2 separate regions of the Homo sapiens genome follow, and region 2 is linked to region 1. Evidence: promoter capture Hi-C in 16 types of primary human blood cells and fetal thymus (Javierre and others, 2016). All regions are on one chromosome and are shown on one strand. The core of a region is centred on a gene start or on the middle of the fragment in contact, and the rest is flanking DNA. Distances in the headings are between cores, read along the strand shown.

Region 1 (5,109 bases), core at 871-3,370:
GAATTTGCTTCAAAATAGTCAGTGTAGGGGGTTGGAGGTGGGTGGAGGATAGGTGAGGTATACGTGAAAGAAGCTTGGCCATGAATTGATGATAACTGTTGAGGTAGGCTAATAGAGTTCATTATTCTGTTATCTCTACTCTTGTATATATTTGAAAATTGCCATAATATAAAATTATAAAATAAGTGATAAATGCTTATATATGTAGAGAATATTTCTGGAAAACTATCCAAGATACTGGTAACAGTAATTGCCTTTAGGAAGGGGAACTAGGCCTATGAGACGGGGATGGGGGAGTAAAGACTTTCTTCTCACTGTACAATTTTTATTTTATTTATTTATTTTTTCGAGACGGAGTCTCACTCTGTCACCCAGGCTGGAGTGCAGTGGCGCGATCTCGGCTCACTGCAAGCTCCGCCTCCTGGGTTCACGCCATTCTCCTGCCTCAGCCTCCCGAGTAGCTGGGACTACAGGCGCCCGCCACCATGCTCCGCTAATTTTTTTTGTATTTTTAGTAGAGACGGGGTTTCACTGTGTTAGCCAGGATGGTCTCGATCTCCTGACTCGTGATCCGCCCGCCTCGGCCTCCCAGAGTGCTGGGATTACAGTCGTGAGCCACCGCGCCTGGCCCTCACTGTACAATTATTATATTACCCACAGAATAAATTAATTGAATTATTTTAACAGTCAAAATGAGTAAATATTACATATTTCCCCCCTCTACCAAATTAATCATTAGACTACCGACATGCTCTAGTATATCCTTCCTGTTCTGTTCTTGACTGCACATCATACGCTTCAGCTACCATCTATTTCTGCAGTCTCTTTTACAGCTAAAATTTTCAGCAAAAGTTCTTACTTTCACTGTCTCTTCCCCTCAAATATCATTTCCCTTTTTCATCCCACTCCAATCTGGTTTCCCTCCTCCCCACCCTCCCAAAACTCCCTCTGTCAAGGTCACCAGTAAGTTCCATGTTGCTAAATCTAACAGACACTCTGCATTTAAGTTGCTCAGCCTGTCAATAGCATTTGGCACAGTTGGCCATTGCTTGCTCGATACACTACCCCTTCTCAAATTCCAAGATACCACATTCTTCCTCTATACAACCTCTAAACACTGAAATATTCCAAGGTTGAGTCTTAAGCTTTCTTTCACTTCTCCATCGACATTCTCTCCTTAGCTGAGTTCATCCACTCCCGTAGCTTTAAATACCACCTATTGCTAATGTCTCCAAAATTTTCATCTCTAACCCTGACCTCTCCTCTGAGGTCCAGACCCATATATCCAACTGCCTACTAGGTACCTTACACTTGGATGTCTAATAGACATTTTATTATTTATTTATTTTATTTATTATTATTATTTTTGAGATGGAGTCTCGCTCTGTCGCCCAGGCTGCAGTGCAGTGGTGCGATCTCGGCTAACTGCAACCTCCGCCTCCCGGGTTCAAGCGATTCTCCTGCCTCAGCCTCCCGAGTAGCTGGGATTATAGACTTGAACCACCACGCCGGGCTAATTTTTGTATTTTAGTAGAGACGGGGTTTCACCATGTTGGCCACGCTCAGGTGATCCACCCGCCTCCGCCTCCCAAAGTGCTGGGATTACAGCGGTCAGCCACCGCCCCCCGCAGTTCTGTCACCTGCGGCAGGGTCCCCTGTTAACCTTGTTTCTCCTTCCCTACTTCACACTCCCCTCTTCTCTCTCAATTCCTCGGGCTCTGCCCCACACCCTCCCGTTACTTCAGTTCCTCCACCTCCACCTCCCTCTAACCTTCTGCCTCAAGTTATCCCCCCGCCCCCCAGCCTCAGGTACCGCTTCTCTGTGGTTCCCTCGCCTCTATCTCAGGTTCCCCGCCTTCCACTTCAGTTTTCTTTCCACAGCTTCTGACCCTACGTTCCCAGTCCACACCCTCCCGGCCAGACCCTACCCGGCTGCTCCAGCGTCAGCGCCCCCAGGCGGCGAATGCCTTCCTCGTCCAGCTCCCATTGCTCCGCCATCCCCGCCCGCCGCTCACCTGCCACCGCCCGCGAGACCACCCGGCGCACGCCAGGCCCCGCCCACTGCCCCGCCCCCCGCGCGCGCGCCGCCGCGACCCCGGGAACCGTTATTGGCCGGGTCACAAGCCCGCCCGCCCGCTGCTGGAGCCGCGACCATGGTACGGAGCCCGCTCTGGCGGGGGCGCCAAAAGCACCAAAGCGGCGAATGGGGGCCGCTGTGGCCAAGGATTGGGGCTAAGTGGTTCGAGACCTGGCTCTGGGGCATGGGAGAGAGCGAGGGGCCCCCAGCCGGGAAGGATTTGGGGGGCTGGCTCTGAGGAGTTAGAATAACGCTCTGTCTTGAGGGATGAAGTGTTCTGGCTCTGAGGATGTGGGGGACTCCGGTTCTGAGGGCTGGGCGTGTGCCCCTTTGACGGGGTGGTCTTCATATCTCAGCGCTGGGGGATGCTGACTTTGGGGCAAGGCGAGGGTGTGTGTGAAGGGGAGATCCAAATCTGAAGGATTGGAGCGTGGGGACAGAACTCTAAGGCATGATGGGGAGCTCCAGATCTGAAAGGTTGGGAATCCTGGCTCTGAGGAGTTGGGGTCCTGTCTTTAGAGCATGAGGAAGTTCTAGCTCTAGAAATTGACTTGGACGGGCTGGGCGCGGTGTCTCACGCCTGTAATCCCAGCACTTTGGGAGCCCGAGGTGGGCGGATCACCTGAGGTCAAGAGTTCAAGACCAGCCTGGCCAACATGGTGAAACCCCATCTCTACTAAAAATACAAAAATTAGCCGGGTGTGGTGGCACGGCCTGTAGTCCCAGCTACTCGGGAGGCTGAGGCAGGAGAATCGCTTGAACCCGGGAGGTGGAGGTTGCAGTGAACCGAGATTGCACCACTGCACTCCAGCCTGGGCGACCTGAGTGACAGAGCCAGACCTTGTCTCAAAAAAAAAAAAAAAAAAAAGGTAAGAAATTTACTTGGACGGAGCTTCTTCGGGGGAGAAGGATCAGCGTGGGAAAGAGAGAAGCTCTTTGTAATGGGGTGGGGATGACTGCTTTAGGGCTACCCCGTTTCCTGAAGTCAGTCCGGCAAGAAGCCTTTTGTCTTTCAAGCACCACAGGTTCCCCTAAGCTTGCCTGTGACTGAGGGCTGTCGCCAGGCTGCGATAGCTCTGCACTAACCAGCCCCTGAGTAGTCTTTGGGAAAGAACAGCCGCATCCCTAACCCCTACCCTCACTCCAGCAGGCACTTAAGAGCCCACCTGTGGATGGGACATGTATGTAAGAAGGAGCCAGGACCCTCTTGTCACACCCTATCCTTAACAAGAAAAGAGGGTGGGCTGGGCGTGGTGGCTCACGTCTGTAATCCCAGCACTTTGGGAGGCCGAAGCATGTGGATCACGAGGTCAGGAGATCGAGACCATCCTGGCTAACACAGTGAAACCCCATCTCTACTAAAAATACAAAAATAAAACAAAATAAAATAAAATAAAATAAAATAAAGCCGGGCGTGGTGGCGGGCGCCTGTAGTCCCAGCTACTTGAGGAGGCTGGAGGCTGAGGCAGGAGAATGGCGTAAACCCGGGAGGTGGAGCTTGCAGTGAGCCAAAATCGTGCCACTGCACTCCAGCCTGGGCTAGAGAGCGAGACTCCGTCTCAAAAAAAAAAAAAAAGAAAAAAAGAAAAAAAGAAAAAAAAGAAAGAAAGAAAAGAGGAACTGAGACCAGAACTGGGGCTCACCTTCGAGAAGTAGGTTTTCTTTGGCATCCAACATCTGCACACTCTGAGCACCCCCATTGAGCTCTCAGCCACCTTTAAGGAGAACAGAAAGCAGAATCAAGGGTCCTTCCTTGCATATTTATGCTTTCTGGTCTATGTGAGACCCTTAGTCACTCCATTTGTTACATTCAGCCTTTGCCTGAACATGAACTTGTAGAAAGGCTTTTAGAAGGGCTGGGACTTAGAATTCTAGGTTAGCTCATTAGATTGACTTTTCTGGCTCTGCTTCTGTCAGTTATGCAATCATTTCACAATTTGTCATATTTCTCTTATTACCCCCTTTAACTCTTCTAGTCTCAAATGTGGCATATATAATTGCTCTTCTTTATGTCTGAATATTGCTGTGGGAGAGATGGACCCCATCCCATTCTTTCTTGCATGCATTTATTTTCCTTCCTCAGCTGTCAGAATGGGAAATGCAGGTTCTTTCTGGAGCAGGGAGCTTTTCCTTTCTTAAGTAATCACCTCTTACTTTAACACTGTTTTTCCCCCACGAACGTCTTAATGCAATTTTATAAACACAGAAAGATTGAAAGAATTGTACAGTGAGCACCATATATCCACCACCTGCATTCTACAATCAACATTTTGCTCATATTTGTTTTATCACATGTCCATCTAGCAATCCTATCTGTCCATCAATCTGTCTTTTTTAAATTCATCTCAAAATAAATTGCAGATATCAGTACATTGCAGTCCAATCACTTCAGCCTGCATAATTTTTAATTAGAATTCGATATTGTTTTATGGTTCTTTTTAGGTAAAATTCTATATACTATTTACTACCCTTTAAAAAATATTTTTACAAGGGTAGTGCCCTTTATTTTAAAATTTGATATGGATGGTTTGTATGTTTGATGGCTCTCTACTTTTCCATCGTATTGATAAACTAGGTCATCTTGAAACAAAGAAGACAATTCACTTATAAATAGATGACCTTAAACTTTTTTTTCAACAACCTCTTGTCCAACAGATGTACAGATGACCTTAAACTTTTTTTTCAACAACCTCTTGTCCAACAGATATACAGATGACCTTAAACTTTTAACAATGAGCTGAGGAAGGTTAGTGATCTTTGCTGCCTTTGTATATATGAAAAGGTATCTATAGCATTCATCCTCCAGTAATGTAATGTCTCTGCAGGTAAGATCCCAAGAGAGTTCTGCATGCGCTCCATGGAATGGACAGTACCTCATCTTTTTTTTTTTTTGTAGATCTATTGAGATATAATTCACATACCATACAATTCACACATTTTAATGTGTACAATTCAGTGAGTTTTAGTATGTTCAGAGTTGTGCAACTATCATCACAATCAATTTTAGAACATTTTCACCATCCCCAAAAGAA
Region 2 (5,109 bases), core at 1,063-3,562, 880 kb before region 1:
AAAAAAAAAAATCAGCCAGGCGTGGTGGCGGGCGCCTGTAGTCCCAGCTACTTGGGAGGCTGAGGCAGAAGAATGGCGTGAACCTGGGAGGTAGAGCTTGCAGTGAGCCAAGATCACGCCACTGCACTTCAGCCTGGGCAACAGAGTGAGACTCCATCTCAAAAAAAAAAAAAAAAAAAAAAGAGAAAGAAATAGAACAAAATAGAAGATAGCAGGCTGCATTCCCTCTAATAAAGGTTAAGAATTGGTTTGTGAGACTTTAACATTAGTTGTATATGTATGTATTTTTTGTGTACTGGGTCACAACATAATCCTTGTATTTTATTGTAGGAAGCTGTCAAAAATGTTTGAAAGTCACTGCACAAAAGAAGAGTCACCACTGGTCAGTTTTGCAGTACTGGCTAAAGCATTCAGATGCCCCAAGAGTCAAAAACACAATAACGAAATAGTGAGACTCCGACTCAAACAACAACAACAACAACAACTCTCATCTTTTTGCCTATAAGGAATTATTCTTGGCCTCTGTTGTACAACTTCAAGTAAAAGGACCTAACCTACTTAGAAGGGAAAAATCTGCATGTAGTCTCTATGAACACTAACTAATACCTTCCTTTTAAGCAGATAAAAAAAGAAAAACAAAGGAAGAGTCAATCTGTACAAAATGCACCCTCACTATAGGGGTCAAAACAAAACAAAATCCAGAAATCCTTTGGTTAAGCAAAATTTTTCTGACTTAAGCTTGTTTATTATTTGAGATCACTCACCTAGTTTTCAGAGGTGATTTAAAGATTACAGTGTGTGCAAAGTATTTTAAATACTGAAAATATCAAAATACTCTTTCTGGGGGTTCCCAATCTCCACAACTGAATCCTCCAAAACAGACTTGAAGGTATAGAACATGTGATTACAGGTACAGCAGCATAAAAATCATAAGAAAGCATCCCAGGAACAAAGCAAGAGGCCAACACACACTATGGGAGCTTTTGTGAGTGGATGAATTCAGTGGTACTTTCAGATTGTGCTTTACAGAAACTTGCAGTGCTCCAGAAATCCTTCTAGTTCCTTGAAGCACTTTCGTGAGCTCCAAAATATACCTCATTCATCTCTCCTGATCACAAGAACTTTGACCAAACATTTACAAAAGTGTGCCGGGCACGGTGCCTCATGCCTGTAATCCCAGCACTTTGGGAGGCCAAGGCGGGTAGATCACCTGAGGTCAGGAGTTCGAGACCAGCCTGGCCAGCATGGTGAAACCCCGTCTCTACTAAAAACACAAAAATTAGCTGGGCGTGTGGTAGATGCCTGTAATCCCAGCTACTCAGGAAGCTGAGGCAGGAGAATTGCTTGAACCTGGGAGGCGGAAGTTGCAGTGAGCTGAGATCATGCCATTGCACTCCAGACTGGGCAACAGGGTGAGACTCCGACTCAAACAACAACAACAACAACAACAACAACAAAAAACATTTACAGAAGAAGAGTTTCAGCCGGGCACAGTGGCTCACGCCTGTAATCCCAGCACTTTGGGAGGCCGAGGCGGGAGGATCACAAGGTCAGGAGATAGAAACCATCCTGGCCAACATGGTGAAACCCCGTCTCTACTAAAAATACAAAAATTAGCTGGGCATAGTGGTGAGTGCCTGTAATCCCAGCTACTCGAGAGGCTGAGGCAGGAGAATGGCGTGAACCCGGGAGGTGGAGGTTGCAGTGAGCTGAGATCGCGCCACTGCACTCCAGCCTGGCGACAGAGCGAGACTCCATCTCAAAACAAAACAAAGAAAAAAGAGTTTCGATTCTTTTGAAACTCTTAAAAAGATTAAAGAAAAGGAAACACTTCCTAACTCATTATGAGGCCAGAATTTACTCTGACACAAAGCCAGAAAAAGATACTATAAGAAAAGAAAAGGCTAGGCACAGTGGCTTACACCTGGGAGGCTAAGGTGGGTGGATCACGAGGTCAGGAGTTCGAGACCAGCCTGGCCAATATGGTGAAACCCCATCTCTACTAAAAATACAAAAAAATTAGCCGGGCATGGTGGTGCGCACTTGTAGTCCCAGCTACTCGGGAGGCTGAAGCAGAAGAATCGCTTGAACTGGGGAGGCAGAGGTTGCAGTGAGCCGAGGTCACACCACTGCATTCCTGCCTGAGCGACAGAGCAAGACTCCATCTCAAACAAACAAAAAAACAAAAAAACTACAGAATATTCTTTATGAATATAGATGCAAAAATCAACAAAACACTAACACAATTCAGCAGCATATTAAAAGGATGATACATTAAGACCAAGTGAGTTTTATTCCCAGAATGCAAGGATGATTCAACAAATGAAAATCAATTAAAGTAATATGCCAAATTAGTTGAACAAAAGAAAAAAAAACATACTCCTGACTGGCATGGGCAACATGGCAAGACCCTACCTCTACAAAAATTAATTTAAAAACCACATGATCATCTCGATAGATGCAGAAAAGTGTTTGTAAAAATTCTTTTATTTTTTTTGAGACAAGGTGTCACTCTGTCACCAAGGCTGGTGTGCAGTGGCACAATAATGGCTCACTGCAGCCTCTACCTCCCAGGCTCAAGCAATCCTCCCACTTCAGCTTCCCAAGTATTTGGGACCACAGCACCTGGCTAATTTTTTGTATTCTTTTTTTTTTTCTTTTTTTTTTTTTGAGAAGGAATCTCACTCTGTCGCCCAGGCTGGAGCGCAGTGGCATGATCTTGGCTCACTGCAAGCTCCGCCTTCCGGGTTCACGCCATTCTCCTGCCTCAGCCTCCCGAGTAGCTGGGACTACAGGTGCCCGCCACCATGCCCAGCTAATTTTTTTGTATTTTCAGTAGAGATGGAGTTTCACTGTGTTAGCCAGGATGGTCTCAATGTCCCGACCTCGTGATCCGCCCACCTCGGCCTCCCAAAGTGCTGGGATTACAGGCGCGAGCCACTGCACCTGGCCATTTTTTGTATTTTTAGCAGAGATGGGATTTCATGTTGCCCAGGCTGGTCTTGAACTCTTGGGCTCGAGCAATCTGCCCACCTCGGCCTCCCAAAGTGCTAGGACTACAGGATTGAGCCAACATGCCCAGAGTGAGTGTGACTGTGAGTGTGTGTGTGTGTGTGTCTGTGTGTGTGTTGGGGGGCAGGGGGGTTAGCCAGAGTTTTATTCGTTCATTTCTTGCATTTGAAGTACTTCAACTACTACACAACTGCAACGAACCACTTTACGGGGTTTCCCCTCTCTGTCAATTTTACAGAGACCTAACCATTCCCCCTAGCTTCTTGTCATCAACCTTAAGTAGGTTGATTTGGTGTTCAGCACAAAGAACCTCTATGAACTTGACATAGGCTCATCACAGTTGGATGCAAACACACAAAAGATGGGCCTGACCCTTCAGCAGCTTTGCAAATTCCACGTGCTAGGCCATCATGGGTGAGGACAGTCTTCAACACCTCTTGTAAAGCAGTATTAACAGCCACCACACCTCCAGCAGCAACACCTTCCGTGGCCATGGTGGTGGTCTACGGGTGAAGCTGAATCTTGAATGCACCCAAGCCTCTGCCTCCACTCAACTCAGCAGTGGCAGGGAAAGAACTCTTTTTCTTTGAGACGGTCTCACTCTGTTGCCCAGGCTGGAGTGCAGTAGCATCCCAATCACGGCTCACTGCAGCCTCCACCTCCTGGGTTCTAGCTATCTGCCCGCCTCAGCCTCCCAAAGTGCTGGTATCACAGGCGTGAGCCACCGTGCCCAACTCATTTATCAAAATTCAATGCTCTTTCAAGATGAAAACATTCAATAAACAAAGAATAGAAGGAATTTCCTCAATATGAAAAAGGCCATATATGAAAAACTGTTAGTTCCTATCATTATCAACAAAGAACAAAAGCTTTCCCCCTAAGATCACAAACAAAGCAAAGATGCCCACTCTTTCACCACTTCTACTAGCCTACCACTAGAAGTTCTAGCCAGAGCAATTAGGTTAGAAAAATAAATAAATACATAAAGCCCATCCAAATTAAAAAGGAAGAGAGAAAATTATCTCTATTCACGAATGGCATGATAGTATAAACATAAAACTCTAAAGAATCCACACAGACAAAAAAATGTTAGCACTAACAAATAAAGTCACCAAAGTGGCAGAATATAGAATCAACACACAATATTCAGTTGTACTTCTATATACTTGGAATGAAAGGTCCAAAAAAAATTAAGAAAACAATTCTTGTTTTGGGGTTTTTTTTTTTGGTTTGTTTTTGAGACGGAGTCTCAGGCTGGAGTGCAGTGGCATAATCTTGGTTCACTCCAACTTCTGTCTCCCAGGTTCAAGCGATTCTCCTGCCTCAGTCCCACAAATAGCTGGGATTACAGGCATATGCCACCACACCCAGCTAATTTTTGTATTTTTAGTAGAGACAGAGTTTCCCCATGTTGGCCAGGTGGGCCCACGTTAGCCAGGTTGGTCTTGAACTCCTGAACTCAGGTGATCAGCCTGCCTCAGCCTCCCAAAGTGCTGGGATTACAAGTGTGAGCCGCTGTGCCCAATCTTAAGAAAAACAATTCTATTTACAGTGGCATCAAAAAGAATAAAATACTTAGGAATTAACCAAAGAGGCATAAGATTTCTACATTGAAAACTAGACCGGGCATGGTGGCTCATGCCTATAACCCTGCACTTTGGGAGGCTAAGGCGGGTGGCTCACCTGAGGTCAGGAGTTTGAGACCAGCCTGACTAATATGGAGAAACCCCATCTCTAATAAAAATACAAAAAATTAGCCAGGCGTGGTGGTGTGAGCCTGTAAACCCAGCTACTCAGGAGGCTGAGGCAGGAGAATCGCTTGAACTTGGGAGGTGGAGGCTGCAGTGAGCCAAGGTCATGCCACTACACTCCAGCTTGGGTGACACAGCCAGATTCCGTCTCAAAAATAAATAAATAAATAAAATAAAGGATTTGGATAGACAAGAAAATATACAAATGGACAACAGGCACATGAAAAGATGCTCAACACCATTAGTCAATAGGGAAATGCAAATCAAAATTATAATGAATATAACTTAATACCCAGTAGGATGGCTATTATTTTAAAAATGGAAAATAACATGTGTTGGCAAGGGT

What was found. The method cuts DNA at HindIII sites, captures the fragments that hold promoters and counts their contacts. A CHiCAGO score of 5 or more calls a contact.
Region 2: a contact is called between a fragment that was not itself captured here and the fragment with the promoter of KCTD19 in region 1, in 1 of 17 cell types (neutrophils). The highest score is 5.0, in neutrophils.

The regions. Positions count from the first base shown.
Region 1 is chr16:67,323,752-67,328,860 of GRCh38, reverse strand. It overlaps KCTD19 (potassium channel tetramerization domain containing 19), which reads left to right and starts at 2,120. Exons shown (of 16, transcript NM_001100915.3): 1 at 2,120-2,156. The coding sequence starts at 2,154. It overlaps LRRC36 (leucine rich repeat containing 36), which reads right to left and starts at 2,046. Exons shown (of 14, transcript NM_018296.6): 1 at 1,929-2,046. The coding sequence starts at 1,998. RefSeq lists a silencer at 2,004-2,153 and an enhancer at 3,909-3,988. The HindIII fragment of the contact is 1,968 bases long and covers 1,148-3,115 here.
Region 2 is chr16:68,207,859-68,212,967 of GRCh38, reverse strand. The region is part of intron 9 of NFATC3 (nuclear factor of activated T cells 3); the gene reads right to left. It also overlaps the pseudogene RPS12P27. Among named protein-coding and RNA genes, the nearest start is that of MIR6773, 23 kb to the left of the region's middle. RefSeq lists an enhancer at 1,755-1,824. The HindIII fragment of the contact is 3,143 bases long and covers 741-3,883 here.